3 separate regions of the Homo sapiens genome follow, and all the other regions are linked to region 2. The links are contacts of gene promoters, found by promoter capture Hi-C in blood cells and fetal thymus (Javierre and others, 2016). All regions are on one chromosome and are shown on one strand. The core of a region is centred on a gene start or on the middle of the fragment in contact, and the rest is flanking DNA. Distances in the headings are between cores, read along the strand shown.

Evidence for each region. Contacts are between HindIII fragments. The CHiCAGO score rates a contact against its expected background, and 5 or more counts as called.
Region 1: a fragment that was not itself captured here is called in contact with the fragment with the promoter of RPP40 in region 2 in 1 of 17 cell types (naive CD4 T cells); the score reaches 5.7 in naive CD4 T cells.
Region 3: a contact is called between the fragment with the promoter of SLC35B3 here and the fragment with the promoter of RPP40 in region 2, in 3 of 17 cell types (activated CD4 T cells, non-activated CD4 T cells and total CD8 T cells). The highest score is 6.8, in activated CD4 T cells.

What each region holds. Positions count from the first base shown.
Region 1 is chr6:8,106,601-8,109,443 of GRCh38, reverse strand. No RefSeq gene overlaps it. Among named protein-coding and RNA genes, the nearest start is that of EEF1E1-BLOC1S5, 5.4 kb to the right of the region's middle. RefSeq lists a silencer at 119-311. The HindIII fragment of the contact is 4,957 bases long and covers 1-2,843 here.
Region 2 is chr6:5,002,504-5,005,565 of GRCh38, reverse strand. It overlaps RPP40 (ribonuclease P/MRP subunit p40), which reads left to right and starts at 1,529. Exons shown (of 8, transcript NM_006638.4): 1 at 1,529-1,686. The coding sequence starts at 1,564. It overlaps LYRM4-AS1 (LYRM4 antisense RNA 1), which reads right to left and starts at 1,750. Exons shown (of 4, transcript NR_126015.1): 1 at 1,607-1,750. RefSeq lists silencers at 1,419-1,548, 1,679-1,928. The HindIII fragment of the contact is 5,117 bases long and covers 1-3,062 here.
Region 3 is chr6:8,434,164-8,437,198 of GRCh38, reverse strand. It overlaps SLC35B3 (solute carrier family 35 member B3), which reads left to right and starts at 1,654. Exons shown (of 10, transcript NM_001370479.2): 1 at 1,654-1,856. It overlaps LOC100506207 (a long non-coding RNA gene), which reads right to left and starts at 1,576. Exons shown (of 5, transcript NR_038980.1): 1 at 1,021-1,576. RefSeq lists enhancers at 1,257-1,346, 1,427-1,506, 1,447-1,616, 1,817-1,876, 1,373-1,914 and 1 more. The HindIII fragment of the contact is 10,856 bases long and covers 1,010-3,035 here.

The DNA of each region.
Region 1 (2,843 bases), core at 44-2,543, 3.1 Mb before region 2:
CCTGAAGGGTGGCACCGAGGACATGCTCCGCCCTTGAGCCTTCCTCCAGGGAGTGTGGAGAAGACGTTCTGCTGCTAAAAATCCTGTGACTCTGCTGTCATTGTCCCCAGGGCTGTGGTTGGAGCTGTGCTGACAGCTCCTCTCTCACACCTCCTCTGCAACAATCTCAGTGACACTGTGCAGCAGGGTCCCCAGCATGGCTCTCAAGCCAAGATCCACCCAAGCCTTGATGAACTGGAGTCCCCCAAGATGAGCCTGGAGTTCTAAATTGAGTCGCCGCTGAGTCGGAGAATTAGGAGGCTATAGAGAGGATGTCGGGGCAGGACTCAAAATCTGGGGGATACTTTGTTCTTTTCTAAGGTATTTCTCTATCTGTAATGCTCTGAAGATTCATTTTCTTACACTTCTTGGAGCCTCAATTTCCTCATCTATAAAATGGGGATAACAATGGTATCTGCTTCAAAGGCTGGTGTGATAATTCATGAGTTAATACAAGAGCTTAGAACAGAGTCCAGCACAGAGCAGTGATCAGTAAGTGTTTGACAGCCGGATGCCGAGAGGGAGGAGAATGAGGACGATGGCGATGATGATGGTGATAATGTAATAAATGGCCACTTCCTGAGCCCAGAGAAGGTGGTTTGGGGGATCAATGAATGTTTGGGAGACTAGCGAAAGAAAATGATTTTTCTTTCAGTACATTGGTTGTCCATTCCTGACTTGTAGTTTTGAGTCATTTTCATTTGCACTGGTCAACCGTCAGATAAGGGATTTTTAATTTTTGGTGTTTAATGTTTGCTTAAAGATGAGACTGTGTAATATCCTCACAGTTCTCATGTTACTTGTTTTGACCCATTGACCTAGCTTTCCACATCATTCCATATGTTTGCATGATTCTTTATTCATTCGGCAAATGAATGTATCCAGTGATCACTCTGTTCCAAGGCTGGTGCCTGGTGCGATGACTCAGTAATAAACAGGATGCAGTCTGTGTGCTCAGTCAGCATGCCGGCCAGGGCAGGCAGATACCAAGAAGGTAGCCTCAGCACAGTGGGGTCTGTCTTGTGGCAGGAGCATTCCCAAGGCTGTTATGAGTGCTCAAATTCAGCCCTAAGAGAGGAAGCGGGGCATTCCTGCTGGAGTGAACCAGAGACAGAAAGGCCCAGAGGCAAGAGAATATTTTGGGCTCCCAGGAGCTGTGAGGAGATGGCCAAGGCTGGGGCAAAAAATGCCAGGCAGGAAGTGTCTAGAAGTGAGCATGAAAAAGTCAACAGAGGTCAGGTTATAAAGGACCTTAGCTCCCAGATAAAGGAGGCTGGACTAAATTCTAAGTGCCATGAAGAGCCACAGGCATGTTTTCTGGAAGGAGTGACCAAATAGATTGGCAGCTAAGAAAGATCACCTGAGGCCAGGCATGGTGGCTCACACCTGTAATCCCAGCACTTTGGAAGGCCAAGGTGGGTGGATCACGAGGTCAGGAGTTCAAGACCAGCCTGGCCAACATGGTGAAACCCTGTCTCTACTAAAAAATACAAAAAATTAGCTGGGCGTGGTGGTGCGTGCCTATAATCCCAGCTACTCAGGAGTCTGAGGTAGGAGAATCGCTTGAACCTGGGAGGCAGAGTTTGCAGTGAGATGAGATCACACCATTGCACTCCAGCCTGGGTGACATAGCAAGACTCTGTCCTCCGCATAGAGATAGGTGTATATAAATGATTGTAGATAAGAATTGGCTCACACAATTATGGAGGCTGAGAAGTCCAGTGATCTGCTGTCTGGAAGTTAGAGACCCAGGAAAGATGCTGTGATATGGTTTGGCTGTGTCCCCACCCAAATCTCATCTTGAATTGTAACTCTCACAATTCCCACGTGTTGTGGGAGGAACCTGGTTGGAGGTTATTGAATCATAGGGGTGTGTCTTTCCCATGCTGGTCTCATGACAGTGAATAAGTCTCATGAGATGTGATGGTTTTAAAAATGGGAGCTTCCCTGCACAAGTTCTCTTCTCTTGTCTGCCGCCACATGAGATGTGCCTTACACCTTCCACCATGATTGTGAAGGCTCTCCAGCCACGCAGAATCGTAAGTCCCATAAACCTCTTCCTCTTGTAAATTGCCCAGTCTCAGGTATGTCTTTATCAGCAGCGTGAAAATGGACTAATACATGGTGGTACCATTCAAAAGCCTGGGAGCTGGACAGCAATGGTAAAGATTCCCATCTGAGTTTGAAGACTTGAGAACCAGGAGCACCATGGGCAAGAGAAGATCAGTGTTCCAGCTCAGCAGTCAGGTCAGGAGTAAATATCACCTTCCCTCATACTTTTGTTTTATCCAGGTCCTCACAGACGGGATGATGCCCACCCACGCTGGTGAGGGTGATCATCTTCATTCAGTCCACCAACTTAAATGCTCATCATTTCTGGAAACACCCTGACAGACACACCCAGAAATGATGTATTACCAGATATCCAGGCATCCTGAAGCCCAGTCAAGGTGACACATAAAATTAACCATCAAAAATAAAGGATGCCCAGAGGCCTCTAAAAATTTTTAGAGGCATCGTTCAAGGACCCTTCCAATCCAGCATCTGCTTACCGGTCTAGCCTGAACAGTTACTCCAAAGAATCATGCTCTCTTCCACTTTGCAGCCTTTGCATATGCAATTCCCATTGCTCAGAACTCTCCCTCAGTTTTCCACCCCACCACTCACCTGACCAACTCTTGTTCATCCTTCAAGTCTCAACTTGAACACCATGACCTCTTGGAAGCAATCTTTTTTTTTGAGATGGAGTCTCACTCTGTTGCTCGGGCTGGAGTACAGTGGCACAATCTTGGCTCACTGCAACC
Region 2 (3,062 bases), core at 280-2,779:
CGCCACCACACCCTGTTAATTTTTGTATTTTTAGTAGAAAGCGTTTCACCATGTTGGCCAGGGTGGTCTTGAACTCCTGACCTCAGGCGATCTGCTCGCCTCGGCCTCCCAAATTGCTGGGACTACAGGCGTGAGCCACAGCACTCAGCCAGATTACCGATGTTTTTAGTGGCAGATGACTTTCCGGCCTTGTCTTAGTTTTAATTTTTTTTTTTGAGATGGGGTCTTACTATATTGTCCAGGGTGGTCGTGAACTTCTGAGTTCAAGTGATCCTCCCACCTCAGCCTCCCAAAGTGCTGGGACTACAGGCGTGAGCCACTGTGCTCGGCCAGATTACTGATGTTTATAATGGCAGATGACTTTCCAGCCTTGTCTTAGTTTTATTTTTATTTTTGGAGATGGGGTCTCACTATATTGCCCAGGCTGGTCTTGAACTCCTAAGCTCAAGTGATCCTCCCACCTCAGCCTCCCAAAGTGCTGGGATTACAGGCATGACCCACTGTGACTGGCTTAGTTTTAAATTCTTAATTATTTACCTTGTAAACTACTTAATTCCATTTCTTCCACATCTCATAGAAAAACTGATGTTCCAGGAAGATGTATCACCAATATTCTGCTGTTTTGTATCCTGCCAGTGCAGAATTGGGGCTGTGCCTCTCTAGTTTGAGAAGCATGTAGTAACATACTTGATTTTGCCCTGATCAGTAACGTACCGCATGCTGGGAGCCGCAGTCTCTTAACCGCTCCAAGCCCGTGACAGAAAAACGAAATGGAAAAATGACTTAGGAGAATTATCACTATTAACCCCCAGAAACAACACATTATTAAAAGCGGTTCTGAAGGGCTATTTAAAAGGGAACTCAATAGTAGTTTCAAAGGAGTCCTATTGTAAGGCAAAAATTGTGCTTTACCTTCCCGCACAACCTTCCCTAATGTTTTGGGAAGGACTGATACAAACTTTTAGTCCTGTTGGCCTGTGTTAATAATGGCCAAGAGGTCCCCAATGGGTAACAGAGTCCTGTGAACCAAACAGTGTGAGAAGTCAGAAAGCAGCTGGGTGTGGCCCCCAAAGCAGCTTAGGGGGTTACTTAACTGTGCGGCTACATTTCTTGACCATATACTAAAGGAACTGGGCCTTTCCATGCGATGTTTTCCTTTTATAACGGTGGCAGGAAGCGGTCCCTCTGAGGGGCCTGACCGAGGTATGCGCCGGCGCCAGGCTGGGGTCCAAGGGGCGCTCCGAGGCGGGGCCCACAGAGAGGGTTTAGGGCAATTCCAAGGGATGGCGGGGACGGAGGAAAAGTGGCGTTGAAAAGGCAAGAGCCAGGTTCCCAGCCACTGGGACAGTGAATTTACAGCTTCAGACATCCACCAAAGAGCGGCTGCGTGGGCTCCTAAGAAGTCTAAGAACTGCTCAGAAATCCAGCGCCGCCATCCCCACTCCACCGCCGCCAGGGGCGCACAGCAGCGGGTATGCGGCCGGAGGGAAGGGGCGGGGCGGGAGGAAGGGGCGGGGCGTGCCCCGCCAGCGGAGGCCGGGAGGACCAGGAACCCAGGAGAGCATGGCCACGCTGCGCCGGCTTCGGGAGGCGCCGCGGCACTTACTGGTTTGCGAGAAATCCAACTTCGGCAACCACAAGTCGCGCCACCGGCATCTTGTGCAGACGCACTACTATAACTACAGGGTGAGTCCGGCTGTCCTCGGCTTTTCGGGCCGTGCTCAGTCCCCGCGTGCGAGAGAGGTTTGGGGAGAGTGCTAGGCTTCGCGGGGCGGGGCCGCCGGCGGTACGCGGAGGGGCGGGGCCCTCGCCCGGCTTGCTGGGAGTTGTAGTCTCTTAACTGCTCTAAGCCAGTGGCTTGCAGGGCTACAGGACTACAACTCCCAGGATGCGCCGGGCGTGGGGGCGGTACCCAGTCTGGAGGGAGCTGTTGTCAGGGGCGTTCTGGCTGCTCACTCGTGTCAACCCGCCGAACTGGGAGTGAGTCCAGGGAGGGATTCGAGGTTCAGGGCCGGGACCAGGGAGTTAGGCTGTGGGGCAGCCACGTGCACCTCGCTTTTTCCCCAAATCAGGGCGGGTCTCGCGCCTCCTCCCCACCACTGCCTCCTCCCCAGCTTGAATCCCTCTCCCACCTGCGTACCTGTGGATCTCACCAGAGCATCCTGCCTAGGCTCGGCCCAGGAAGCGACTGATTTTCCTTTTTTTTTTTTTTTTTTTTTTAGACGGAGTTTCGCTCTGTCGCCCAGGCTGGAGTGCAGTGGCGCGATCTCGGCTCACTGCAGGCTCCGCCTCCCGGGTTCACGCCATTCTCCTGCCTCAGCCTCCCGTGTAGCTGGGTCTACAGGCGCGCGCCACCACGCCCGGCTAATTTTTGTATTTTTAGTAGAGACGAGGTTTCACCGTGTTAGCCAGGATGGTCTCGATCTCCTGACCTCGTGATCCGCCCGTCTCGGCCTCCCAAAGTGCTGGGATTACAGGCGTGAGCCACCGCGCCCGGCCGAAGCGACTGATTTTCTAAATTGGTTGTTGGAACTAATTTGATATCTGAGAGACTTCAAGAAACTAACCTTATCATGGGGGATTAAACATTTTACACTTTAAATGGATCAGCTTAATAACTCAGGTTTGACTGAGCAGTGTTTCAGAGATGTTAAGTGGTGACCTGATCAGTCAGAACAGGCTGGTGTTTGAGCCTTGGGACAGTGATGACTTTTACAATGTGGCAACATTTGAAGCCTGCCCTGTTTTTAACACCTATTTTGGATGTCAAGCTCATCACAGCAGTCAGGGATGTATACTTTAACTCGCCTGTTGCATTTTTCTGTCTCGAAAATGAAAACATACAGGAGCACCATTGCTTGCACATAGATTCTTAGTAATTGGATGTCCATAAATTAATTCCTTATGCCCCGACAGATAGTTTGTTTCATTCCAGGATAACACCAGGGTAAACAAATCAAGGGATATTCAATTATACTATATTTCCTTGAAAATAAAATAGTGAAAGGAACAGGACATAAAATATACAGCATTGCTAATTTGCAAAAGATTAAATGCAAGCA
Region 3 (3,035 bases), core at 405-2,904, 3.4 Mb before region 2:
GTGTTCCATGCAGAAGGAACAACAGCTACAAAGCACTGATGCTTGCTGTGCTTGGGGGCAATTAGAAAAGCTCTGAAGTGTAGCTTGGATGTGATCCATCAAGAATAAGTTCAGTCTTAAAAGTCAGGGTAAGAATTTTGAACTTTAATCTGAGTAAAATGGTAAACCGCTAAAAGGTTCTGCACAGAGGAGTGGCATATTCAGGTTCTAATGGGATCACTCCAGCTGCTGAATGCAACTATGTAGAGAAATAAAGGGAATGCAGAAAGCTATGCTCACGGCTACTGCAATTGTCCAGGCATGAGCAGATGGTACCTTGTAACACCTCTTGTACCTTAAGTTGTTTTATACTGCCATTTACTTTCTCATGGAAACCCCTAATTTCTTCAGGACAGGGAGCTCATACGCATAGTTTACGATATGAGCTATACATATGCCCATTTAATAAATACTTGATAAATAACCACCATATAAATGGCTAACAGTAGTACTAAATTCACATTATACAGTGACGATATGGCATCACTGAAAGGTTTTGTCATTTACTATCTCTTTAGGAAATTTAAGTTCTCTAAGCCTTAATTCCAACATTCCTAAGTGTTGCTAACACCAGCCTAACAACGTTGGCAAGTATTAAACGAAAATGTCTACCCAGACCTTTTTTTCTCACCACCAAAGTAGGTGCCTTGCTTTCTTACAAACCCTCGATCCCAATACAAGACACAAATGCTACCCTTTCTGAAGAGTGCCTGTAAAATTTTAAAAGTTGTCCATAACTGACTGGATTCTAACATACATATTAATCCAATTCATCCCTTTCTGGTATTCAAGGCATGCTTTCAAAAATTGTCCATCTTCGTTACAGTAATATTTTCCTTAATTATTCTCTGAAAACAGCTCATCCCCAAACCGTCTTGGTTTTTACGTTATTACATCTCAGTGGTGATGGATGAGGCCCTAAACGCGGGGAAAACCTTTTACAAAAGTTTTGATGGCTGGTCCTCAAGCTTTGAGATTTACCTTCCAAGAATTAAGCAGCACTATCGAAACAATGCTGGCAACATTTTTATGAGGTTGCAAGGACCACGGTTGCTGCAGCTACAGGATGAGTTATAACGTCAGAAGCAACCCAAGCGTTACTTCAGGCCCATCTTCACCGGAGAAGCCCGTATGAATCAGGCAAAAACATAAAAACAGGTTCTGTGACTTTGCCGTATCTCATTTAGATCAAGTAGCACGCAGAAGGAAGACAAGGATTTTAAAATCTGGCTCCAACATTCTCCACTTGGTCGCGTTCTCAAATCTCAGCCCAGGGCCGCTGACGTAAAGTCGCCTCTCTCGTGGGCACCACGGGCTCGAGGGTAGCCGGCAGCTGAAACCCGAGGGGCTTCAGAGGCTTGGAGGCCAGGAGCAGGCAGAGCGCCGATGGGATAATGAGATTCTCCAGCAGATCGGCGCTCACCGACCTACTCCATTTCAGTGGGTAGAGGTAAAGGCTGAAAGGCGACCCTCGCACCGCCCGGCCCACCTAGGCAGTGCCGGCCTAGCGTCTCTACCCCATAGAGCATGCGCGGGAGGTAACGGCCCGCCCGCCACCGGCCACACAGGCCTGTCGGGAGGCGGGGCCACGCGTCTGCGCACGCGCGCAGGGACACATAGGCGGAAGTGGCCTGCGGGCGCCGGAGTTGAGAGTGCTTTCCGGGGAGGCGACCGCCGCGGTGGAAAGTGCAGGAGTGGGCGAGGAGGAGGAGGAAGAGGAGGTGATGGCGACGGACCAGGGGAGGGGGAGATGCTCCGTCTAGCTCAGACGCCACGCAGGCTGCCGTCACCCTTCCGGGTGACATACCGGCCTTGGGGTACGCGTGCCTTCGGGGCCTTTCCTGTGTTTGGGACCCAGATCTCCTCTCCTCCAGAAAACCTTGACACTGCCCATCTTCCTCATCCAGAAGGAGCGTTCGAGGAATGGATGAGGTCGGGATGGAAGAAACGGGTGATTCCCTTTTTTGAAAGAGCGGAAACCGGCCGGGCGGTTTCCAGGGAGGAGCATCTGTTCCTCCTCGCCCGTTTTTCGCCCTCGGGCTGGCGAGAACTCCCTCAGGTCCCAATCCGTGGACTCGCAGGGGTGAGGTGACCTCAAGGGGTCTTTTACGCTGTTCTCGGGGTCTCTGGAGAACTGTCAGTCACCTGGATACCTCTAGACTGTATTTACAGTTAACTGTTTCCTCGTTCCGTGTTTATTAAATAGGGGCACTCCAAGGTACTCTTTTCTCCATTTGGCTTGCAGTAGAATGTGATTGTTCTGGCTGGGCTATTAAGTTTATGGCATAAACTTCCACTAGAAGTTCTGCAAGTTTCCTCCAGTCTTTGCAACTGAATTATCTCTCCCGTCTTTTTATTATTTAAGGAATATTGAAAGTAAAAGATGGAATGATTTGGTGCGCTAACAAAATCTTAAGTGTTGAGTATCTGCATTTTTTCTACATTAGGATATCAGAAGCCTAGAATTGTTTTTTGATTAAACGTTTTTCTAAGTGAATTGAGATAGTTTGGAACTTGGAAGAGAGGCAGCATTTCAAAATAATTTAGACAGCGTTATTTTTACTTAATTACTTAATATATAAAGTCCTAGTGTTAACTTTTTCTCTTGGAAAAAAAAAAGAATAGTCTTCAAACATTAGCACAGGGTTTCTCCACCTTTGTGTAATGATGTGTGTACAAAGAAATGAGATGGAACTTTGTTTTTTCTGTTTTATAATCGTACACCATAGGCCATGATTGATTCCGGAGCGCAGTTAATCAAGGCATAATGGCATGGTAAGATTCTTTTATTTGTAACGTTGAGTGTGGCAAAGTATAGTTAAAATCACGTTTTTTCAGGTTAATGACACCGTAATGACTTTTTTTTCATATTCTACCTTTTTTTGGTGTGGGACTTTTGTCCTTCAGGTCGGAAAACTCAAAAATAAACTGAAATAATTGTGACTTCAATAGGTCATTGTAACTCAACATTATCACTAATTTTAATTTTTAAATAT